Regions from separate parts of the Homo sapiens genome. Here region 2 is linked to region 1. The links are contacts of gene promoters, found by promoter capture Hi-C in human tissues and cell types (Jung and others, 2019). All regions are on one chromosome and are shown on one strand. The core of a region is centred on a gene start or on the middle of the fragment in contact, and the rest is flanking DNA. Distances in the headings are between cores, read along the strand shown.

Region 1 (4,543 bases), core at 1,405-3,904:
TATACAGGTTGCCCACACACTAGAGAAAGAGAAGAAAGGGAAATGTGGAAACCTAGGAGTCCTGTTTCTCTGGTCCCCACCTTATCATCATTCCCAAACTCCCATCTATTCCTAGGACCTGAACCCTCCCTAGACACCATACTCCATCCTATTCTGGTTCCACACCCAGCAGTCTTGGGCTCAAAATGGAGACCACTCCCCTGATTGTAGCTCTTTCTTTTTGGGAAAAGAGTGTAAGCAAGAACCTAAGGAAGAAATAGGGTATCATTAACACATAGTAACACATCTAATATCTAGATTCACTGAACAGAGAACCTTCCTTTATATTTAAATTTTCCAGATTGGTGTTAAAGGCCAAAATTTTCAAATGCCTTCTACCTATTAGTGGGAATCTTCACAAACATACTTACCTGCCTTCTTTAGCAGCACACATGGAATATCATTTAACTTAAAATTTTTTTTTTAAACCAGGGATAGTGGCTCATGCCTGTAATCCTGGTGCTTTGGGAGGATGAGGTGGGAGAACTGCTTGAGGCCTGGGCAATATAGTGAAACCAGGTCTCTAAAAAAAAAATTGAAAAAGAAAAAGATTTCCACATTTCTCTTTCTCTTCTTTCTCTAGTGTGCTGGTGACCTGTATACTCAAGACGTGTTGTAGATGGCCAAGATGCTGCTGCAGGGTGCTGGCCTTGGCAGGTCAGCCTATACTTGGGCCACAGCTTTATCTGTGGATGTTCCCTGGTCAGTGAGAGGTGGATACTGACAACAGCACACTACATACAAGTGTGAGCTCTAGCTGGTAGCTAGCACACAGACAGGTTCTCAGTGAATATTTGCATGACTACATAAATGAACCAATAGACAAATGAAAGTGGTAAGATTGACTGGGCACAGTGACTCACGCCTATAACCCCAGCACTTTGGGAGGCTGAGGTGGGTGGATTGCTCAAGTCCAGGAGTTCAAAACCAGCCTGGGCAACATGGCCAAACACCGTCTCTACAAAAAATATAAAGAAATTAGCCTGACATGATGGTGCATGCCTGTAGTCCCAGCTACTTGGGAGGCTGAAGCAGGAGGATTGCTTGAGCCCGGGAGGTGGAGGATGCGGTGAGTTTAGATCATGCCACTGCACTCCAGCCTGGGCGAGAGAGTGAGACCCTGTCTGAAAAGAAAAGGAAAAAAATGTGGTGAGATAGGCAGGGCAGAAGGAAACCCTAGGTCACATGGGACTCTCAAACTAGGGATGACCAGAGATAAGGCACAGAAGTAGAAAAAGGAATGTTGGAGACAGGTGCTATATTAGAGACTTTTCTTACTTTTCACAAATCACTTCCTAAATACTAGTCAGGGTTTTTTTTTTCTTCTTTTGGGCCACAAACACAACAGGTGTGGTTCAACCACACCTGTAGTCCCAGCTACTAGGGAGGCTGAGTGGGAGGATTGCTTGAACCCAGGAGTCTGAGGTTGCAGTGGGCTATGATTGCACCACTGCACTCTAACCTGGGTGACAGAGTGAGACTCTGTCTCTTAAAAAAAAAATGCTCTATGAAGATTCAAATTTAGCTTTTACTTGATTCAAGGTCACCATCAGGAATATGAAGTATGTTAGTTTATAAATACAATGATGCCCTCAGATGCGGTTGAGGTTGCAAGCTGTTTACTTTTGTGCTATTTGGTTTAACTGAATTGGCATTTTGCAGTATTTGTGTATCTTTCTTCTTTGCTACCTGTTAAGTTTTTTGCTCTCTCAGCATACCCTTTCTGTTTTTTGGGGGGACGGGGTCTTACTCTGTCGCTAAGGCTGGAGTGCAGTGGCGCTATCTCGGCTTACTGCAACCTCCACTTTCCAGGCTCAAGCACTTCTCCTGCCTCAGTCTATTGAGTAGCTGGGACTACAGGTGCCCGCCACCACGCCCGGCTAATTTTTGTATTTTTTGTAGAGATGGGGTTTCACCATGTTGCCCAGGCTGGTCTTGAACTCCTGATCTCAGGTGATCTGCCCGCCTTGGCATCCCAAAGTGCTGGGATTACAGGCGTGAGCTGCTGTGCCTGGCCAGTATACCCTTCCTTTAAATCCCTGTGGACCAGAAAAATAAATGAACAAGCATATACCTGAAATCATAGAATAGTGTTTGCTCTTCCAGTTCCCTCTGCTTGAGATGCTCTTTTCCTGGATCCTCTTACTTAATTTAGTTATCCCCTTCAGTTCTGCTCAAATGACTCCTTCTTAGTGAGGCCTTCTTTAACTACCCTTCTAAAGATTGCAACACTCCTGCCCCTGTACTTCAGATGCCCCTTTCCTTTCATAGTACTTATTACCTTCTAACAAGCCTTATAATTTACACATTTAATATGTGCATTGATTATAAGTCCCACGAAGATAGGGATCTTGTGGGTGTGTGTGTGTACTGCTATTTCCAATCGGGAGCATTGGAATGGTGCTGGGTATATAGTAGCCTCTCAGGACCTTCTCAGGCTGTGCTACTCATAACTAACATCCCATGGGTGAAGTGTCACATTGTTCTATGTGATGCCCTCTTTAGTAAAAATCCTCTGCCTCTGCCTTCTCAACCCCACCCTGGCGCTCACCTGAGATCCCCAGCAGAAGGAGCAGCGTGAAGGCACAGCCAGCAGGGCCCATGTCTCTGTCCTCAGAGCCAGTGAGCGCTTCCTGCTTCCTGGACTCAGGCTCCCAGGAAGAGGCCAATGGGGAGCTGCCAGAACTAGCTTCTCCTAGATGGATTCCTCTGCTTCACCCCCTCCTCTCCTTTGGTCTTCACCCGCTGCCAGATCCTGAAGGGACCAGACTTCAGAAGTGCAGCTGCAGGACCCAGGGGAGGAACTGGGGTCTGTGGCGCCCCCTGCTGTCCTGGGAGAGCAGGGTTTCTGGGGTTTCTGCCTGTGGTGTTGAGGAGTGGCTGGTTGAGGGCACTGGAAGAAACAGGACCCTGTCTCTAGCAAGGAGATAGAAGGTGGACAGGATTCTCCAAAAGCAAGAAATGGAAAAGAGGAAATGAACCCAGTATCTGGTTAATTTTTCTGAGTTTTTTTGTTTGTTTGTTTTCATTTCTGTTACAGTGTTAGCTGCACTGCAAGTCAAGTTTCCTGGGAAACAGACTCTAAGACAGAGATTTGTGTGCAGGAAATTTATTTTAGAGTGGTCTCAGGATCAGCAGCTCTTGGGTGGGTAGTAGGATTGGTTAGAGGGAGAGTTGAACTGTGATGCGTTTGCAACAGAGGCCACAGCCTATCTCACAAGTTTCTCTGGAGCTGAGGTGGCCCTCAGAGACTTTCTGTACTGAGCTAAGAAGGATGCGTTCTTAGGGGTCTGCATCATTGGATGCAGGCCACCTCCTAGGAGGGGGCATTACCTTGGGTGAGGTGGCTCTGTTGGCAGTTCTTGGAATAAGACTTAGCTGTGAACTGTCAGCAGCCAACACTCCTAGCTGCTAAGGGAATGAATGCTTCAGTTCTAAAGGGGGGTCTGGATGGTACACCACAACATCTACCTCAGAAATCTTCACTCTGCCTTTTGTTTTCTGTGCCAATTGTTTGTAGGGTGCTAGGTCTGTGGAGGCAGAATTCAATGAACTATTAAAATGTTACTGCTCTCTTGCAACTTAAAATATTGGGATGCTTGAAAGAAACATATAAGCAGTTTAAAACTAATAGGCCAGGCACGGTGGCTCATGCCTGTAATCCCAGCACTTTGGGAGGCCGAGGCGGGTGGATCACCTGAGGTCAGGAGTTTGAGACCATCCTGGCCAACATGGTGAAATCCCGTCTCTACTAAAAATACAAAAATTAGCTGGGTGTAGTGGCGTGCACCTGTAGTCACAGCTACTCGGGAGGCTGAGGCAGGAGAATCGCTTGAACCCGGGAGGCGGAGGTTGCAGTGAGCCAAGATGGCGCCACTGCACTCCAGCCTGGGCGACAGAGCGAGACTCCGTCTAAAAAAAAAAAAATAATAATAATAATAATAATAATAGAAGTGGCTGGGCGTGGTAGCTTACGCCTATTATCCCAGCACTTTGAAAGGCTGAACGGGGAGGATCCCTTGAGACCAGGAGTTTGAGATCAGCCTGGGCAATACAGTGAGACCCTATATCTACAAAAATTTAAAAATTAGCCTGGTGTAGTGATGTGCACCTGAAGTCCCCAGCTACTCGGGAGGCTGAGGCAGGAGGATCACTTGAAGTCAGTAGTTCAAGGCTACATGAGCTATGACTGTACCACTGTGCTCCAGCTTGGGCGACGGAAAGAACCTGTCTCAAATAATAATGGAAGACCAGAAAATGTAGATATTTTGGTAAGAACTATTCAGTTACAGGCAACTGAGGCTCACTTAAGCTAGCTTAAATCAAGAGGAGATTATTTTAAAGCTATTGTTTTGAGCTGAATTATGTCTCCTCAAAAATGTATCTTGAGGCTGGGCATGGTGGCTCACGCCTGTAATCCCAGCACTCTGGGAGGCCGAGGCGGGTGGGTCACGAGGTCAGGAGATCGAGACCATCCTGGCTAACACAGTGAAAACCCGTCTCT
Region 2 (4,556 bases), core at 1,244-3,743, 140 kb after region 1:
GATTTGATGATGATGAGGATAAGCCTGTCTCTTGATATAAAGAAACTAAGAATAACAATTGCTAGTCAATAAGAAGAGGTCGCTCTTCAGCTTTGCCTTATCCTCTGGCCAATCTCGGCATTTGGCTAGATGGATAGAGAATGTTAGATTCTTTTTGCTAATTTATTTAGAACTACTGTTGAATAAACCATTCAGATTAAATACAAAATGCAGACCAGGCATGGGAGGTAGCATTGCTTTCAAATTAGAAAAAGCACTTAGTTAAGTGGTAATAAATGAAATGGATTTTACTTTTTGTGAATTATACTTCTGTTGAAAGTCATTAGCTCCTTTCATTACAAAAGGCAAGAGCATAAATCATAGAACTTTCTTCTTTTCCCATCCTAATAAAGACACAACTTTTAAGACTCTGTCTTGATCACAGTTTTAAGGAAAAAGCTATCCTTGAAAGGGAAAGAGGTCAAAAACCACTACTTTGGGGTAGAATAGATACTGTTTCAAAATAAATAAACAGTTCCCTTTTGTTTTACTCTCTCAGCTTAAAAAAGCAAAAAGAAAACATACTGGGGGATATTTTAATTGAGATTTTCATCCTCCCTTAGCAAGGACACATTCTTCTTCAACTTGATAATAATTCCCTTGTTTGGCTCAACTGTGTGGTTTGCATCATGTACTCATAATGTAATTGTGTCAAGAGGACTCTAATGAGAAAAAAAAAATTGGTCTCAGAGTGAATAATAAATCCACCATCTATCCTGCACACTTCATTCACAGCCCTTTTCTCCCCCTAAGGATCCAAGCCACGCTCAGAAGCCTGTTGACAGTGGTGCTCCTCATGCTGTCGTTCTTCATGATTTCCCAGCAGGTAAGGATGTAAATAATGCAGTGGGAGAACCACAGGATCCAGGAGTAAGTCTTTTTCCCTGCCGGGGGTTAGCCTCTCAAGGACATCCTTCTTCATTTTTCTGTGCCTATAGAGTCCGAGACTGGAGAGGTCATCTTATCCAGGACTCCACTTCAAGAAGGGTTGATTGTACCAGCCATTCCAGAAAGCTTAGTTGTATACCCTTGCCTTTGAAGCTCCCTGAGAAAGAGAAAGAGAGAGAGAGAGACTTTCCCTTACAAATGAACATTGCAAATTGCCTACCAGTCACAAACTTTTTAACTCTTTCAAAATAGTGGGTACTAGGCCGGGCGCAGTGGCTCACGCCTGTAATCCCAGCACTTTGGGAGGCCGAGGCAGGCGGATCACGAGGTCAGGAGATTGAGACCATCCTGGCTAACATGGTGAAACCCCGTCTCTACTAAAAATACAAAAAATTAGCCGGGCGTAGTGGCGGGCGCCTGTAGTCCAGCTATTCGGGAGGCTGAGGCAGGAGAATGGCGTGAACCCGCGAGGCTGAGGTTGCAGTGAGCTGAGATCGCGCCACTGCACTCCGGCCCGAGGGACAGAGCGAGACTCCGTCTCAAAAAAGAAAAAAAAAAATAGTGGGTACTAATTAACAATTGTAATATGGCTGGGCACAGTGGCTTACACCTGTAATCCCAGCACTTTGTGAGGCCGAGGCGGATGGATCACCTGAGGTCAGGAGTCCAGACCAGTCTGACCAACATGTTGAAACCCCGTCTCTATAAATACAAAAAAGTAGCCGGGCATGGTGACGCATGCCTGTAATCCCAGCTACTTGGGAGGCTGAGTCAGGAGAATCACTTGAACCTGGGAGGCAGAGGTTGCAATGAGCTAAGATTGTGCCGTTGCACCCTGGGCAACAAGAGCAAAACCCCGTCTCAAAAAACAACAACAACAAAAAAATTGTAATAAAGTTAATCCTAACTTAATAACTGAAGTTCTTTTGTCTTCAAAGTTGTCTCAGCTGCTTACTTACCTATGAGATCAAAGTAATTTGTGTGTGTGTGTGTGTGTGTGTGTGTGTGTGTGTGTGTGTGTGTGTGAGACAAGATCTTGCTCTGTCGCCTAGGCTTGAGTGCAGTGGTGCAATCACTATAACCTTGAACTCCTGGACTCAAGTGATCCTCCTCCCTCAGCTTCCCCAGTAGCTAGGACTACAGGGGTGCCACTACACCTGGCTAATTTTTTTTTTTCCTAGGGACATGGTCTCGCTATGTTGCCCAGGCTGGTCTTGAACTCCTGGCCTCAAGTGATCCTCCCACCTTAGCTTCTTAAAGTGCTGAGATAACAGGCATGAGCCACCCATGCCCACGCACAATATAAGTACTTTTGTAATAATTTTTAAAATGCCCTTCATATCCAAGGCTACAAATAAACTCCTGATTTACTTACAATCTCTTTTTATCCACTTGATAGGCTGATTTTTGTTTTGGTATGGGTAAACTTATTTGCTAAAGAGTTGTAGTACTCCCTTAGTTAATATTTGAAATTAAAATGATTTTTAAGCATAATTGAGAATAATAATATTATACCATGTCTATAAACTTTTTTCATTGTTCAGTGTGTATTCAGCACGGCTTTATATTGGCACAGTAGGAAACATTTGCTAACACAATAGTGTTTTTTTCAACCATTTCCCATCAATCAAAGCATGGTAAATGTGTCTAATTTGGTCTTTAAAAAGGGAGCTCATAACAATGTCCAAAAAAAGAATAGCATTTTTTAAGTCAATTTGATTAGTATAATCTGTTCTCAGAATCAGTGGAACATAACTGCCTCAGTGGACACAACTAAATGCTACTTTGTGCTTTTATCAAATCTGCAACCAGGATGATTCATCATACATAACTATAATTTTATATTACAGAGCAAGTTGATGATTTGAACCTCACTTCTGGAGAAATTGTTTATCTTCTGGAGAAGATAGATACAGATTGGTACAGAGGGAACTGTAGAAACCAGATTGGCATATTTCCTGCCAACTATGTCAAAGTGATTGTAAGTGGGTTGTGTTTGTTTTAATTTGGTCATATACTCAGTGGGTTCTATGTGACTTGTAGGTTGGAAAAAATAACTAGAAACCCAGATTCTAGTTCTCTTTCATTGATTCATTTGGCATTTGGAAAATTCAAAAATAAAGATTTGGTCAACTAGGTGATGGTTAATTATTATATTATGGAGTGTTAGAACTTAATGCCTAAATGCTGTCTGAAATCCTAAAGTGAAAGACCACCACAGGTCAACTGGTGAATCAGCTGTTCTTGGAGAGTTGTTAAGCACTTAAGGATATATGGTAATTCTTTGAGACATTTAGTGAACATGAATTCAGTGATACTAGCTTATCCTGTAGAGATGTTCTCTGAGGTTATGGTACCACTTCTTTTCTTTGGAGTACATTTTGGTTTGAGTTTCTTTCATCTTTTCCATTCTTATTTATCTCCATCTTTAAAAAAAAATTTATTTGGGAATACAGAAGTATTTATATTGGAGATAGTGGTTCATTAATGGTTGTACCCACAAAATAATTTCTAATCTGATTAGGAAAATTATATTAAAGCACCAGAATTTTTATACCCTCACGGCCTAACTTGTGAAAGCATTCCTATGTGTGAGAGCTGTGTGTAAGCCCAGATGGCTGTGTGAAACATGGGGATAAAATCAGACTGCCCTCACACATTTGTATCAATTGGAATAGGATGACTCGGTCCCTGATATAACTTACTGATACTGTGAAATATCAATAAATTTAGCTTAACAGCATTAACAGCTTATTTGGAAGGAAAAAGTAAATAAATTCCATTACATCAGAATATTAGAAAACAAGACTAACAGAAAATCTGAATTCTTCAAATAGAAATGAATTTGAGTCTCTTGGATTATGAAGGGTAGGCATTAAACATTGTCCAGTGTATCTATGCCTTGATTCTTTGGAGAAATTCAACCACATTCTGTAAATTAATATTAAGAATAATGTTTGTTTTAGCACTCTTCCTCATTTTTCTTCTGCCCAATGTAGCAGTACTTTAAAAAGCACAATTACCACACTGAAATCAATCACACAGAATCTGCCACATTATTGGTATAAGTGTTATTTCTAAGCCCACAAGTTTAAAAAATTGTTTTAAAACTTCAAAACTTTAAAATTCAAGAAGGCACTGATTTAATATAAACCTCGAGCTTTAAGTAGTTTTAAATTGCATGCATTATAGCCAAATATTTTATTGCAACCCAGCCCTCCTCTACTGAGCCTTGTAAATGAGATATTATATTAAGTGCTTGGCTGGGCACAGTGGCTCATGCCTGTAATCCCAACACTTTGGGAGGCTGAGGCAGTAGGTAGGATCACTTGAGCTCAGGAGTTCAAGACCAGCCTGGGCAACATAGTGAGACCCTGTCCCCACAAAAAATTGAAAAATTAACTTGGCATGGTGTTACGCGTGTGTAGTCCCAGCTACTTGGGAGGCTGAAGTGGGAGGATGGTGTGAGCATGGGAGGGCAAGGCTGCAGTGAGCCATGATCACGCCACTGCACTCCAGCCTGGGCAACAGAGTGAGACCCTGTCTCAAAAAATAAATAAATAAAATAAAACAAAGTGTTGCCACTTAGTTTGCTAAATACAGATTCCTTTCTTCCCTATTCATGTTGA

Evidence for each region. Contacts are between HindIII fragments. The study calls those that stand out against the background at their distance.
Region 2: a contact is called between a fragment that was not itself captured here and the fragment with the promoter of PRSS48 in region 1, in 1 of the 25 tissues and cell types used here (adrenal gland).

Annotation. Positions count from the first base shown.
Region 1 is chr4:151,275,272-151,279,814 of GRCh38, reverse strand. PRSS48 (serine protease 48) reads right to left here and starts at 2,654. Exons shown (of 5, transcript NM_183375.5): 1 at 2,591-2,654; 2 at 1-19. The coding sequence starts at 2,642. The region is part of intron 1 of SH3D19 (SH3 domain containing 19); the gene reads left to right. The HindIII fragment of the contact is 14,422 bases long and covers 1-4,543 here.
Region 2 is chr4:151,136,084-151,140,639 of GRCh38, reverse strand. SH3D19 (SH3 domain containing 19) reads left to right here. Exons shown (of 20, transcript NM_001378122.1): 13 at 793-865; 14 at 2,778-2,908. SH3D19-AS1 (SH3D19 antisense RNA 1) reads right to left here. Exons shown (of 2, transcript XR_001741442.2): 2 at 1-1,084. Among named protein-coding and RNA genes, the nearest start is that of SH3D19-AS1, 14 kb to the right of the region's middle. The HindIII fragment of the contact is 6,577 bases long and covers 1-4,556 here.